Regions from separate parts of the Homo sapiens genome. Here all the other regions are linked to region 1. The links are contacts of gene promoters, found by promoter capture Hi-C in human tissues and cell types (Jung and others, 2019). All regions are on one chromosome and are shown on one strand. Each heading gives the region's core, a stretch centred on a gene start or on the middle of the fragment in contact. The rest is flanking DNA. Distances are from core to core; before and after follow the strand shown.

The links. The method cuts DNA at HindIII sites, captures the fragments that hold promoters and counts their contacts. A contact is called where the count stands out against the background at its distance.
Region 2: the fragment with the promoter of DEF8 here is called in contact with the fragment with the promoter of ZC3H18 in region 1 in 1 of the 25 tissues and cell types used here (lymphoblastoid cells).
Region 3: the fragment with the promoter of FANCA here is called in contact with the fragment with the promoter of ZC3H18 in region 1 in 1 of the 25 tissues and cell types used here (lymphoblastoid cells).
Region 4: a contact is called between the fragment with the promoter of CPNE7 here and the fragment with the promoter of ZC3H18 in region 1, in 1 of the 25 tissues and cell types used here (dorsolateral prefrontal cortex).

The regions. Positions count from the first base shown.
Region 1 is chr16:88,568,797-88,571,821 of GRCh38, reverse strand. ZC3H18 (zinc finger CCCH-type containing 18) reads right to left here and starts at 1,419. Exons shown (of 18, transcript NM_144604.4): 1 at 1,256-1,419. RefSeq lists enhancers at 829-878, 1,969-2,018, 2,129-2,238 and silencers at 1,149-1,218, 1,399-1,728. The HindIII fragment of the contact is 27,123 bases long and covers 1-3,025 here.
Region 2 is chr16:89,947,134-89,950,158 of GRCh38, reverse strand. It overlaps DEF8 (differentially expressed in FDCP 8 homolog), which reads right to left and starts at 1,404. Exons shown (of 13, transcript NM_001242818.2): 1 at 1,345-1,404; 2 at 646-742. RefSeq lists a silencer at 1,275-1,374 and an enhancer at 2,055-2,394. The HindIII fragment of the contact is 40,323 bases long and covers 1-3,025 here.
Region 3 is chr16:89,815,154-89,818,178 of GRCh38, reverse strand. It overlaps FANCA (FA complementation group A), which reads left to right and starts at 1,532. Exons shown (of 43, transcript NM_000135.4): 1 at 1,532-1,642; 2 at 2,193-2,302. The coding sequence starts at 1,564. RefSeq lists enhancers at 869-918, 1,304-1,598 and silencers at 1,459-1,748, 1,979-2,028. The HindIII fragment of the contact is 15,845 bases long and covers 1-3,025 here.
Region 4 is chr16:89,574,166-89,577,190 of GRCh38, reverse strand. CPNE7 (copine 7) reads right to left here and starts at 1,433. Exons shown (of 15, transcript NM_153636.3): 1 at 1,120-1,433. The coding sequence starts at 1,293. RefSeq lists silencers at 1,970-2,039, 2,280-2,509, 2,970-3,025. The HindIII fragment of the contact is 23,727 bases long and covers 1-3,025 here.

The DNA.
Region 1 (3,025 bases), core at 170-2,669:
TTATCAAGGTTGGTGACAGACCCCACGTGCAAAGTGACCAAGCGTGACCACTAAACTCCTTGATAAAGAGGTACTCACCTTGAGATGCTCTGTAGCTGTGACAAAATACAAATCTCTGTAAACACGATGTAGGCCATAGGTTAACTTACCTGTTTGCTTTCTGGAGTGACTCCACAAAGCTTTCTTACAATATTTCAGCATGTCCCACCTACAACGGGAGAGGAGTTTCCGGCTTTGGGACACATTTGACTGGTTCCAGGGCTGGCTGGGCTCCATACTGCCCTTAGATAGTAAAATTATCAGGAAAAGACTCTCCTCCCAAAGCTGGGAAGCGGGATTCAGCCGAGGTCAAACCTCACCCGGATAATCCCAACTACTGAACGGGAAAGGACTACTCTACAGACAACAGGCTGGAGGTGAGTCTAACAGGAGACATGATGAGCACCTTGCTACACCCCAAACGGTACTTCAGATGCCAAACACTCTCTTCTTCCATTTTCCCAAATGGGTCTGAAGAATGACCTACTCTTGCAAATGAGTTAGCGTTGTTCGAACAAAGCTCATTTAAAACGGCCACTCTACCCGGCAAACTCAGTTGTCATAAAGTATTCAGGAAAAATGTTTGGCAGGAGTAAGGCTGTTAAGTTTCAGTTCTTCCAGCATTATAGCTGCAGTTGGTCTATATAAAGGACCCAGCACCTCTGATCTCCTAATCCAAGGGGCAAGGAAGTTACATACTCCTAAGAGACCGGCGCGCGTCTTGGGGCAATCACTGCGCCCAACCTGTGCACACTTTGAAGCTGCGGAGCAAGTTCCAGGAGGTTCATAAAGAGCTCAAAGTTCTCCGAAGAGCCCAGCAGCAGCCCGGGATGACCTACTCTGGAGGTGAATCTGGGCGCCTCTCACCGCCCCTTAGCCGGCGGCACACATGTGCCACGCGAGTGGCCCGGAAGAGAAATGACAGCTTCAGGAAAATAAACTCTGCCGCGGGGCGCGGAGGCAGCGCGCGAGGAGCTCGGGCGCCCAGGGCGCCCCAGGACCGCGGGGCCGGCTTACGGACGGAACTCGGGGTGGTGCCTGTCTCAAGGTCCCCTTCCCTGGGCCCGAGGGCCACGCTTCGGCCGGTGGGTCCGCACGGCCGGAGGCGCGCCGGGCTCCCGGGCCTCCCTCCCGCGGCCGCCGCCGCCGCCTCGGCGGCCTCCTCCTCCCGCCGCCGCCGGCCCGGCCTCCCGCCGCCCTCCCGGCCCCAGCTAACCTCAGCGCTAGGGCGGAGAGGAGGCCACGGCTCCCCTGGAGTCGGAGCGGCGTGGAGAAGACGTCCCTTGGCCCTTCCGCTCTTCACAGGTTCTGGCTCCAGGCTCGACACGGGCGGAACAAACGGGCTCCACTACCCGCGGGGGCCGGCCATTGTGCGACGTCATCAGGCCGCGACGGTAGTCCTACGGCCGGCGGGCTTCCCTCCCTCGCCCCGCCCCCTCCAGCTTCCTTCCGGCCTCCGCGCGGTTCCGCCCCCGCAGCGCGCGCCCGGACCCGCGCGAGCCAGCCGAACCCCCGCTACAGCGCAGGCGCCACGGGGAGTTCGCTTCTCAGGCGGCGGGCGTGCGGATCCGCGCCTGCGCACAGAGCTCCCCGCGGCCGCCGGGTCACGTGACGGGGCTCCGGCTGGGCCGGCGGGTTCTTCATCCCCGGGGATGATCGAGTTCATCAAAGTGGAAAACTTAAGGCGGTCTTCGTCGGGCTGATACTTCCTGCTTTATTGAATGTTGATATTAAATGCTTACCTCCGGAATTATTTTTTGAGGTATCGACTTTAGATTAAAAGCCTAACAATTCTTACCTTTCCCGTGGGCTGCCTGGCTCCCCGCGCGGTTCAACGCGAGCAGCGCCAGTGAGGGGACCTGTCGCGTGTCCTGCTCAGCGCGGTGTCCCACGGGCGCGTCCACAGCCCGGGGCGTCCAGGGGCTGCAGCGGTGCGAGCTGCTCTAGAGACGGAGGGCCCGGCCGGAGACCAGGGGCCGGCGGTTTCATCCTGCGCTGACCCTTGCCAACGACGTGGCTGGTCCTGGGGATCACAGGGCTTCGCTCATCCCATCTTCCTCCATATCCCCAAGGTGGAAACAAGGGGGCGAGATGTCCACAAACTGAGGAACAGACAAAATGCTGGCTGTCCATGCAGTGGAGTGTGAGTCAGTCATCAAGAAGAGTGAAGTTCAGACCCATGCCACAACATGGGTGAACCTTGGAAACATACTAAGTAAAGCAAGCCAATCGCAAAAGGACAAAACCTGTGCGACTCCATGCTATGGACCGAGTTCTGTCCCCCTAACATTTGTATGTGAAGCCTTAATCCCCAATGTGACTGTGTTTGCAGAAAGGGCCTTTAGAGAAGTAATTAAGGTTAAATGAGATTATAAGGGTGGGGTCCTGATCTGATAGGATTAGTGTCCTTGGAAGAGGTACCACAGGCCTGGCACTGTGGCTCACACCTGTAATCCTAGCACTTTGGGAGTCCAAGGTGGGAGGACCACCTCCTCCAGGAGTTTGAGACCAGCCTGGGCAACAAAGCAAGACCCCTGTCTCTACAAAAAAATTAACAGGGCACCGTGGTGCGTGCCTGTAGTCCCAGCAACTTGTTATGGTTACGTAAGAGGAATGTGAATTCAACCCTGGTGATTTTGGGTCGTGTCAGGAGCAGCCCTGCGACACCAGTTGGCACCTTCTGCAGACTCTATGTGTCGATAAGACAAGGTCCCACCCAGCAAGTGCCCTTTTCTCAGCTGATGAACATAAGCCTGCATGGACGTTACTGTCCATGGAAAGGAGCGGCCGGCACCGGCTGTGACAGACACGTGCCTGTCTGCGATCTGAGTTTCATGAACAGTAAACTCTGTTGGTCACAGCCTCTTTGGAAAACAATGTTAGTTAAAAGAAGTGCCCTGTGACCAGCAGTGCCACCCTCGACAGGGTTCTCCAAGTGGGACCCGGGCAAGCAGCCTCAGTATCACTAGGGGTTGTTAGCAATGTG
Region 2 (3,025 bases), core at 155-2,654, 1.4 Mb before region 1:
CATGGCCAGAGGAGCGTCAAGGAAGGCACGCTGGCAGGGACACCTCCGTTCTGCCCAGCAGCTGTACTCTAGGCTACCAGCTCTCCTCCGGGCTGTGAAAAAAGGCATCTTTTATTTGCCTATTTACTGACAGTCAGTGCCAGCCCCAGGCCTGGCGCACGGGCAGGGGATGAATGAGGGGAGGCCGCTGGCCTCGCAGCCTTAGCTTCTGCTCACACAGACCTGGGGATGCCGGCCACAGTGGCCGACTCTGAGCAGAACGCCAGCCTGCCCCTCTCACCAGGCTCACCCCACCAGTTCTGCACCCAGATGTGGGACTTGGCCTCAGAAAGGAGCGGGCAGGAAGTGGAAGAGTGAAAGCAAGAGGTCTGGCCACCCCCTGCCCCTCCTCTAGAGCCCACTGCTCTCATCGGGGAGGACCCCACAACTTAGCAATGAAAGGAAGCCGAAGAAAGCCGGCGGGGTTCCGGGGCACGGAGGGACCCTGGGCCGAAGCTCAGGACACGCGGGATGCACGGACCTGGCCTCCCGCGTCCTGCCCGCGGCGTGACCACCAGGAAGCGGTGTCATCACTGCAGCTGCCACCCCGAGAACCTGAGAAGTCACCCCGGTGTGCGGAGTCAACAGCGTCCTGTCTGCCCATACCTGCATCGCCTGCCAGGGCCCAGGGGCTCGCAGGGACAGGATGGCCATTCCTCTAGGGCTGCTGGCCACGGAAGCCTGGCCGTGGGTTCGGCACCTGCTGCAGGGAGAAGCCACCCCAGCACTGTGCCTCCCCACCCACCACACCCGCGGGAGCTCGCCCGGTCTCCCGGGCTCCTCGGGGGCAGGTCTCTCCCACCCACCCGTTCCACCGAGGGGGAAACTGAGGCTCGGAGCAGCCCAGGGCGGGGGCACGGCCACGCGGGTCCCCTGAGCCGCCCGGGTGCTCCGCACGCAGCTGGTGTGGACGCCGGAGCAGCGGCGGCGTCCCCGGGGTGGGGCGGCCGAGGTCTCGAGGCCCCTGCGCCGGGCGGGCCGCCCTCCCAGCCCCGTCCCCGCCGGCCCCGACCTCGCCGGCCCCGTCCCCGCCGGCCCCGTCCCCGCCGGCCCCGTCCCTCCCAGCCCCGACCCCGCCGACCCCGTCCCCGCCGGCCCCGTCCCTCCCAGCCCCGACCCCGCCGGCCCCGTCCCCGCCGGCCCCGTCCCCGCCGGCCCCGTCCCTCCCAGCCCCGTCCCCGCCGACCCCGTCCCCGCCGGCCCCGTCCCTCCCAGCCCCGACCCCGCCGACCCCGTCCCCGCCGGCCCCGTCCCCGCCGGCCCCGTCCCCGCCGGCCCCGACCCCGCCGGCCCCGCGCCGCTCACCTGACCGCCGCCTCGCATCTGTCTCCCGGCTGCGCTGGATCCGCCCGGCCGCCCCGCTACGCTGGATCCAGCCCCGCGCTCGCTGCTGCCGCCTCCGGCGCGGAGGTTCATGGCACGCGGGTCGCGAGTCTGCGAGCCCCGGAGTCCGCCCGGCTGTTCCGCGGGCCTGACCTGGGGCTGCGCGTCCTGGGTTTCCTCTCATCGCAGAAGGCCTGTGGCTGAAACCCAAACCCCAACACGTTTAAAAAAAATGGGCGGGCGCGGCGGCTCACGCCTGTCATCCCAGCGCTTCGGGAGGCCGAGGCGGGCGGATCGCGAGGTCAGGAGATCGAGACCATCCTGGCTAACACGGTGAAACCCCGTCTCCACTAAAAATACGAAAAATTAGCCGGGCGCGGTGGCGGGCGCCTGTAGTCCCAGCTACGCGGGAGGCTGAGGCGGGAGAACGGCGTGAACCCGGGAGGCGGAGCTCGGAGTGAGCCGAGATCGCACCACTGCACTCCAGCCTGGGCGACAGAGCGAGACTCCGTCTCAAAAAAACAAAAAGGGTGGCTTTTAACACTTTTTTTAACCTCAGTGGTTGAGGAGGAAAAAGGAACAGAGAACCACCGTGTGCAGGTGCCGCCAGCCACCTGCAGGGCCCCGCGGGGGCTTCACGGCTGCAGAGGGAGGGACCCGGCGCGGCTCTACCCTCTTTACACAGGAGGACGCGCCACACTGCGCTCAGGAGGCTGCTCCATGCAGGCGCCGGGCAGCGGGACTTCGGAGGCAGCTGGTGTCCGCGGGCCCTGGCGTTATTCCTGCTTTCCCGTTGTTTACACACAGAGCAGGCCTGCTGCTCCCCGCCCCCGTATCCCTACTCTTAGGCTTCTCGCGTGGAAGATTCAGCTGCCCCCGCTTGTGCCCGCAGGGAGGAGCTGAGGACAGATGAAGGCCAGCATATGCGCCTGGTGCGCTTGCCCTGAGCTCGCGGGCTCAGTTTACCCTCCCTGCAGAAAGGTGTGGTTTTGGCTGCCTCTGGGGCTTGGTCCACTTTGTTCAGTGGGCATGGTGATGACAGTGCCAGTAACTGGAGGCCTCCCAAGTGGGAGCCACACACCACCTTGCAGAGACCAGCTCGGTCGGGGAGACCCTAACCCGGCAGCGCTAGAGGAACTAAAGACACACACACACAGAGATAGAGAGGTGTGGAGTGGGAAATCAGGGGTCTCACAGCCTTCAGAGCTGACAGCCTCGAACAGAGACTTACCCACGTATTTATTAACGGCAAACCAGTGATAAGCATTGTTTCTGTAGATATTAGACTAACTAAAAGTATCCCTTATGGGAAACGAAGGGATGGGCCAAGATAAAGGGATGGGTCTGGCTAGTTACCTGCAGCAGGAGCATGTCCTTAAGGCACAGATCGCTCACGCTATTGTTTGTGGCTTAAGAATGCCTTTAAGCAGTTTTCCGCCCTGGGTGGGCCAGGTGTTCCTTGCCCTCATTCTGGTAAACCCACGACCTTCCAGCGTGGGCGTCATGGCCGTCATGAACATGTCACAGTGCTGCAGAGATTTTGTTTATGGCCAGTTTTGGGACCAGTTTATGGCCAGGTTTTGGGGGGCGTGTTGCCAACACCATCTCATTTAACCCTACGGAAGCCTGGGGGCCAGCAGTCACCTACAGGACAGGCAACTCC
Region 3 (3,025 bases), core at 283-2,782, 1.2 Mb before region 1:
CCATCAGAAAAATTACCTGTTATCAGCGTTCTTCCTTTCTTATAATTTGATGAGTTTCCTCCTCATGCATATTGTTCACCTTTCGTACAAGAGACCTCCACATATTAATCACAGTTAATTTAAATTTCCAGCCTGTTTCAATTTCTCGATCACCTCTGAGTCTAGTCCTGTTAATTGCTTAGTGTTATTTTTTGTTTTTGAAACAGGGTCTTGCTCTGTTGCCCAGGCTGGAGTGCAGCGGCGCGATCTCAGGCTGTTCCCTGAGTTCACACCATCCCCCTCAACCAGCAGATTGCAAAGTGTCCGAGTCGGGCCGTGCAGGAGTCTTTGTGGGGGTTTCATGGACTCCGAATTCTCATTTCTGCTCCATCCCCATCTCATGAATCCAAGGCCCCACTCTGTGCCTCGGCTCTTCGTTTGTGGTGCTGAACGTCATCTACGTCATCTACGCCATCTACGTAATCAACACAATAAAGACGCCTGCCGGGAACGCGGCCCTTCGGCTGAATCCCTTCGGTGGTTCCAAGGCCACTGCCAGAGGATGCGGACGGGTCTCCAGGGCCTCTACTTACCCAGGACTTTGAGGCACATTAGCTTCGCCTAGGCACTCGCTTTTACGAATTCTTATGTTTGGTTTTGTTTTGAGACAGAGTCTCGCTCTGCCGCCCAGGCTGGTTAAAAGATAGGGTCTCAGCCGGGTGCGGTGGCTCACGCCTGTAATCCCAGCACTTTGGGAGGCCGAGGCGGGCGGATCACCTGAGGTCCGGAGTTCGAGACTAGCCTGGGCCAACATGGCGAAACGCTGTCTCTACTAAAAATAACAAAAATCATCCAGGCGTGGTGGCGCGCACCTGCAATCCCAGCTACTCGGGAGGCTGAGGCAGGAGAATCACCTGAACCCAGGAGGCAGACGTTGCAGTGAGCCGAGATCGCGCCACTGCACTCCAGCCTGGGCGACAGAGGGAGACTCCGTCTCAAAAAAAGGAAAAAAAAAAAAAAGAAAAGAAACAAAAGTGATGGGGTCTCGCTCTGTTGCCCAGGCTAGTCTGGAATTCCTGGGCTCAAGCGACCCTCCAGCCTCGGCCTCCCAAAGCGCTGGGAATACAGGCGCGGCTACCGCGCGGTCTCCGGCTGCCGAAACACCGCCCTGCGCGCGGACCGTTCGGCCGCCGGGAGGAACAGCGGCTGCCCGGAGCTCAGAGGCGCGCGCGGCTTTGCGCTCCCCGCGGCGCTCTGAGCCTGCCTCGGCTTGGTTGGCCAGGTGGTCTCTTCAGGACCAACCCCAGTCATTCCCGGCAGGAACCACGCTTGAGGGGCGGCAGTCTGCCCGCGCGAGACGCCCCCGCGGACTACACCGCGGCGGCAAAGCCAAACGCAAAAACTACCTCACCGCGCGCAGGCGCCTCCCCCAGGACCAACATGGCCACGACGCAAGGCCTCGACCTGAGGGGCGTGGCCTGGCCGCCGCCAGCCAACGGGTGTGCGCGCCTGGCCGCAGCCAATAGGAAGGCAGCGCGGGCTCGGGCGCAGGGAGCCGCCGCCGGGGCTGTAGGCGCCAAGGCCATGTCCGACTCGTGGGTCCCGAACTCCGCCTCGGGCCAGGACCCAGGGGGCCGCCGGAGGGCCTGGGCCGAGCTGCTGGGTAGGTGGGCGCGGCAGGCCGCGGGAGTGGGCGGCGTCCGGCCCGGGACGGTTTCGCCGGTTCCCCGATCCCTTCCCGCCAGAGCCTCCGCCGGTCGGATCCCCGGACGCCGCGCCCGGGGGGCTGTGCGGGGTGGGCGCCCGGCTGGGGCGGCGCGGCTGCCTCGGACCCGGCCCCTCCTGCGCCTGGGCGGACGCCCCCAGCCGCCGCCCGCGGGGCGCTCCCTTCTTTCCCGAACGCCGCCCCCGCCGGCCGCCCTGTCAGGCGGGCCTGGGGTGCGCGGCCTGGGGCTCCCCTCAGCGCAGAGGCCGCCCCTCGCCAGCCGTCCCCGGGCTCCCCTGCCTCGGGCCCTCCTGGGCCGTCTTCCCCGGCGTCCGCGGTGGGGCCGTCTCCGTTAGTTTCCCGAGACCTGCGCCCTGGGGAGGAGCCCCGGCCCCTCTTCGGGAGGGTGTCGCTGGTGGGTTTCTCCGCGGCGTCCACCTGCGCGTCGGGCCGGGGACCCCGTGTGTGAATTGTGCTGTGATGGTTTCGAACCGACTTCTCTCCGTAGCGGGAAGGGTCAAGAGGGAAAAATATAATCCTGAAAGGGCACAGAAATTAAAGGAATCAGCTGTGCGCCTCCTGCGAAGCCATCAGGACCTGAATGCCCTTTTGCTTGAGGTAAGAGGAAGCTGGTGTCCGTCTGCGGGCAGATTTAGGTTCGGGGTTTTTGAGTCCAGCCACCGCACAGCTTTCCTAAGAAAACACCCGAGGCGGCGGGCGCGGTGGCCTGGCCCGCAGAGGGGAGGGTCGCCTGAGCCCGGGAGTTCTGGACCAACCTGGGCAACGGGGTGAGACCCCGCCTCTTTTATTAAAAACAAAACAACAACAACAAAAAAACAGGCCGGGCGCCGTGGCTCAGGGCTGTAATCCCAGCTTTTGGGGAGGCCAAGGCGGGTGGATCACTCAGGGTCAGGAGTTCGAGACCAGCCTGGCCAACATAGTGAAACCCGGTCTCTACTGAAAATACAAAAATTAGCTGGGTGTGGTGGCGCACGCCTTTAATCCCAGCTACTCGGGAGCCTGAGGCAGGAGAATTGCTTGAACCTGGACCCGGGAGGCAGAAATTGCAGTGAGCCGAGATCACGCCCCTTGCAATCCAGTCTGGATTACAGAGTGAGACTGTCTCACAAAAAAAAAAAAAAAAAAAAAAAAAAAAAAAGCCGGGCGTGGTGGCTCACGCCTGTAATCCTAGCCCTTTGGGAGGCCGAAGTGGGTAGATCACTTGAGGTTAGGAGTTCGAGACCAGCCTGACCAACATGGTGAAACCCCGTCACTACTTAAAATACAAAAATTAGCCGGGTATGGTAGCAGGTGTCTGTAATCCCAGCTGCTCAGGAGGCT
Region 4 (3,025 bases), core at 184-2,683, 1.0 Mb before region 1:
CGTAGGGTACAGGGGGGCCCTCCCTCCTGGCTGGGGTACCATGGGCTCACCAGCCTCTCCCATCCCATGCAGTTCCCTGGTCCAACTGCCCCGTAAGGACAAGACCCAGCTGGGCCAGTAGGCTACTCATTTCAGAATCCTGAAAAATCCTGCACCTCAAACCAAGGGCAAACATGGGCCACCCGTACAGCTCACGCTCTGAGGGTGCGGGCACGAGGCCTCCGTGGGGATGGTGGGCTCGGGATGTGAAGGGTGGGCTCAGGCTGTGAGGGGCGGGCACGGGGCCTCCGGGGGCAGCCGGAACCCTGGGGACAGGCGGTGAGGGCGGGGCAGGCCCTTCACCCTCAAGGTGGATGACCGGAGACGCCACCGGGTGACCGCGTCCCTTCCACCGCCCGAGCAGCCGCCCGGGCCCGCGCTGGAGCCTGGAGAGACCCCTGCGCCGGGGAAAAGCGCTGGCGCCCCGCGCGGACTGGGGTTCGAGTTCCGGCTCCTCCGCCCGCTGCGGCTTCGCGCCATGCGTTTCTCGCCCTTTCGAGGTGAAGCCACGCGTTTCACGCGAGATGGTGACCGAGGAAGCGCCCGTCTGGCGCCGGCCCCGTGCCCCTTCGGACCCCAACCGCGATCACAGCGGGTTCGCTTGAGACCCACGTTGGAGCGGGAGCCCCGGACGCCTGGAGGTCCGCACCCCAGCGCGCGCTCCCTCGCCGGCCTGCTCCCGCCCAGCCTCCCGCCCCCCGTCGGCCGGCGCCCCTCACCCCTCAATCTCCTTGCGCCTCTTGGTCGAGCCCCCTGCCCGCGCCTCATGCCTGGGCGCTTCACTCTGGCCCGGGGCCCCCTCCCCGAACCCTGGGCCGCACCCCTCACTGCGGGGCACCCCCCTCTCTCCTCCGAACCCCGCTCGCCGCCACCTCCTCCAGCCCAGCCTCTCCCCACAGCTCTGGACACCCCACCCCCAGACCTGGTAACCCCCAACCCTGACCCCGAGCTGAGCCCCAGCTCCGGGGGGCCCCGCCTTGCGCCCCACTGGCCTCAGCGCGCCCGCTCTGGTCTCCGCATCCCCAGCTCGGCGCCAGCCCCGGCCCGGTGGCCTCTCGGCCTCCCACGCCCCGGCCCTACCTGCACCCACTGGCCCTGCGCCTGCTGCAGCAACGCCACGCTGGGGTCGGACTTGGTGAGCGGGTCGCGGTCCAGCAGGTGCCGGCAGCTGAGCCGCAGCTCCACCTTCGAGGCGCAGGGCGCGGGCAAACCCCCGGGGGTTGCCGCCGCCCCGCGCTCCGAGCCCGCGCTCATGCTCCCGGCGTTCGGGGGCCCGGCTGGGCGCACTGAGGGGCCGCTGCCCGCGAGTCGGCGCCGCCGCGGCGCCCGGGAAATGGTGGCCGGCCCAGGCGTGGCCGCGCTTCCCTGAACGCCTGCCGGGCGCGGGCGCACGTGGCTCGGGCGGCCGCCGCGCGGGGACTGCAGGGGGTGGGGCGCGGCCGGGGGGCGGGGCCGGGGAGGGGCGCGGCGGGAAATGAGGGCAGGGGGCAGAGGCAGGGGTGCCCCTCGGAGATGCCCGGGAGGAGACAGCTTCTAATTCCCCGGGGACCCCCCCCCCAACTGATAGCTTTGGGGTCAGGTCGGGCGCGCCCTCCCCGGCTGTGCGCATCCCCGGCCCAGGGACCGGCTCCGGGCTGGAGGCTCCGAGCTGCGCGGGGCCTGAGCCCGGGTTCGGACCCAGGCAGACACTAGGGGAGGCAAAAGGGGGACCCCAGCTTGGCACCAGATCCCCGCGCCCTTCCCGGATCTCTAGGATCCCATTTCCAGGCTCCGCTGGTTTCGGGTACTCGCCACCTCCATCAACAAGCATTTAGTGGGCGCCTGTTGTGTGCAGGCGCCGCGCTCGTCTGGGGCTGGAAGGACCGTCCCGGGGGGCCGAGGGCTGAATCGCGGTCTGATTCCGAGGGGTCCGCGGGGCACGGTCCACACCAGTCCCCCGAGGCCGGGGCGGGGCGGGGCAGGCCTGGGTTCCGTGGGGGGTGGGCCCGCTCCGCCCTGAACTCACTCCCCCACCTTCCCCATCACCGGTCCCGGGGGAGGGAGCAGCGGAAGAGGAGGCGTCGGCGGGGACAGAAACCACCTCGCAGTCCACTCTTTTTGCCGATTTCTGCCTAAAAATAGGGCACGGACCTCGCCAAAAGCCACGGGGGTGGGGGGCGAGGGTGAGGGAGACATTAAGACTGAAGAGGCGGGAAGACCGGGCGCCTCCGCTCAGCCTCGGCGATCAGGACTCTAGAAGAAGACCCTGCGGTCAGAGGGGACCGCCGCCGACAGGGCGAGGAGGCTCAGGGCCCCGCCGGCGGGAGGCAGCACAGGCAGCCTCGGCCTGGGAGGAGGAACGCGGCCAGCGGCGTCCCCTCGCGGTCGGACGGCGGGATGGCGCCGGGCGCGGCTGCAGGGCGGGGAGGCCCCACGGGGCTGGCAGGGCCGGGAGAGGCCATGGAGACCGGCTCCTGCCTTCCCGGGAGGTTGGCTAAAGAGGCGAGGAACAGGTCAGGGCGCAGCGAGGCCTGCAGGGCCCCATCTGCTGTCTCCCCGGCCTCTGCGCCTCCTCCCTGAAGCCCGCAGTGGGCAGAGGCCAGTCCCGCTCTCTAGGGACCAGTCTGGGCCTTCCCGGCCCTGTGTCCTCCTCAGCCCAGCCTTCCAGGCTGCCGGGAGGCCACATCCTCGGTCCCCAACCACTTCCATGGGAAAAGGATGCGAAATTCAGGCAAAGGGTGCGGGCGCCCAGGCAGCTCCTGCAGGCCGTGCCTCCCGCTCGGTTCCAGCAGCCCTGGGACAGTTTTCCCCAGACCAAGCTCCGCTTCCTGCCTTGACCTCACCCGAAAGCTCCTCACCACCGCCCTGAGGTTTGCTCGTCTGCAGTGTGGCGTGAGGCCTGAGGTCCACCAGGCTGTCTGAGGGGTACCCGGCTTAAACCTGGAACACCCCAGTTCAGCCCTTGGCTGTCACATAGCGGCACCCTGGCAAAATAACAGATGGCTTC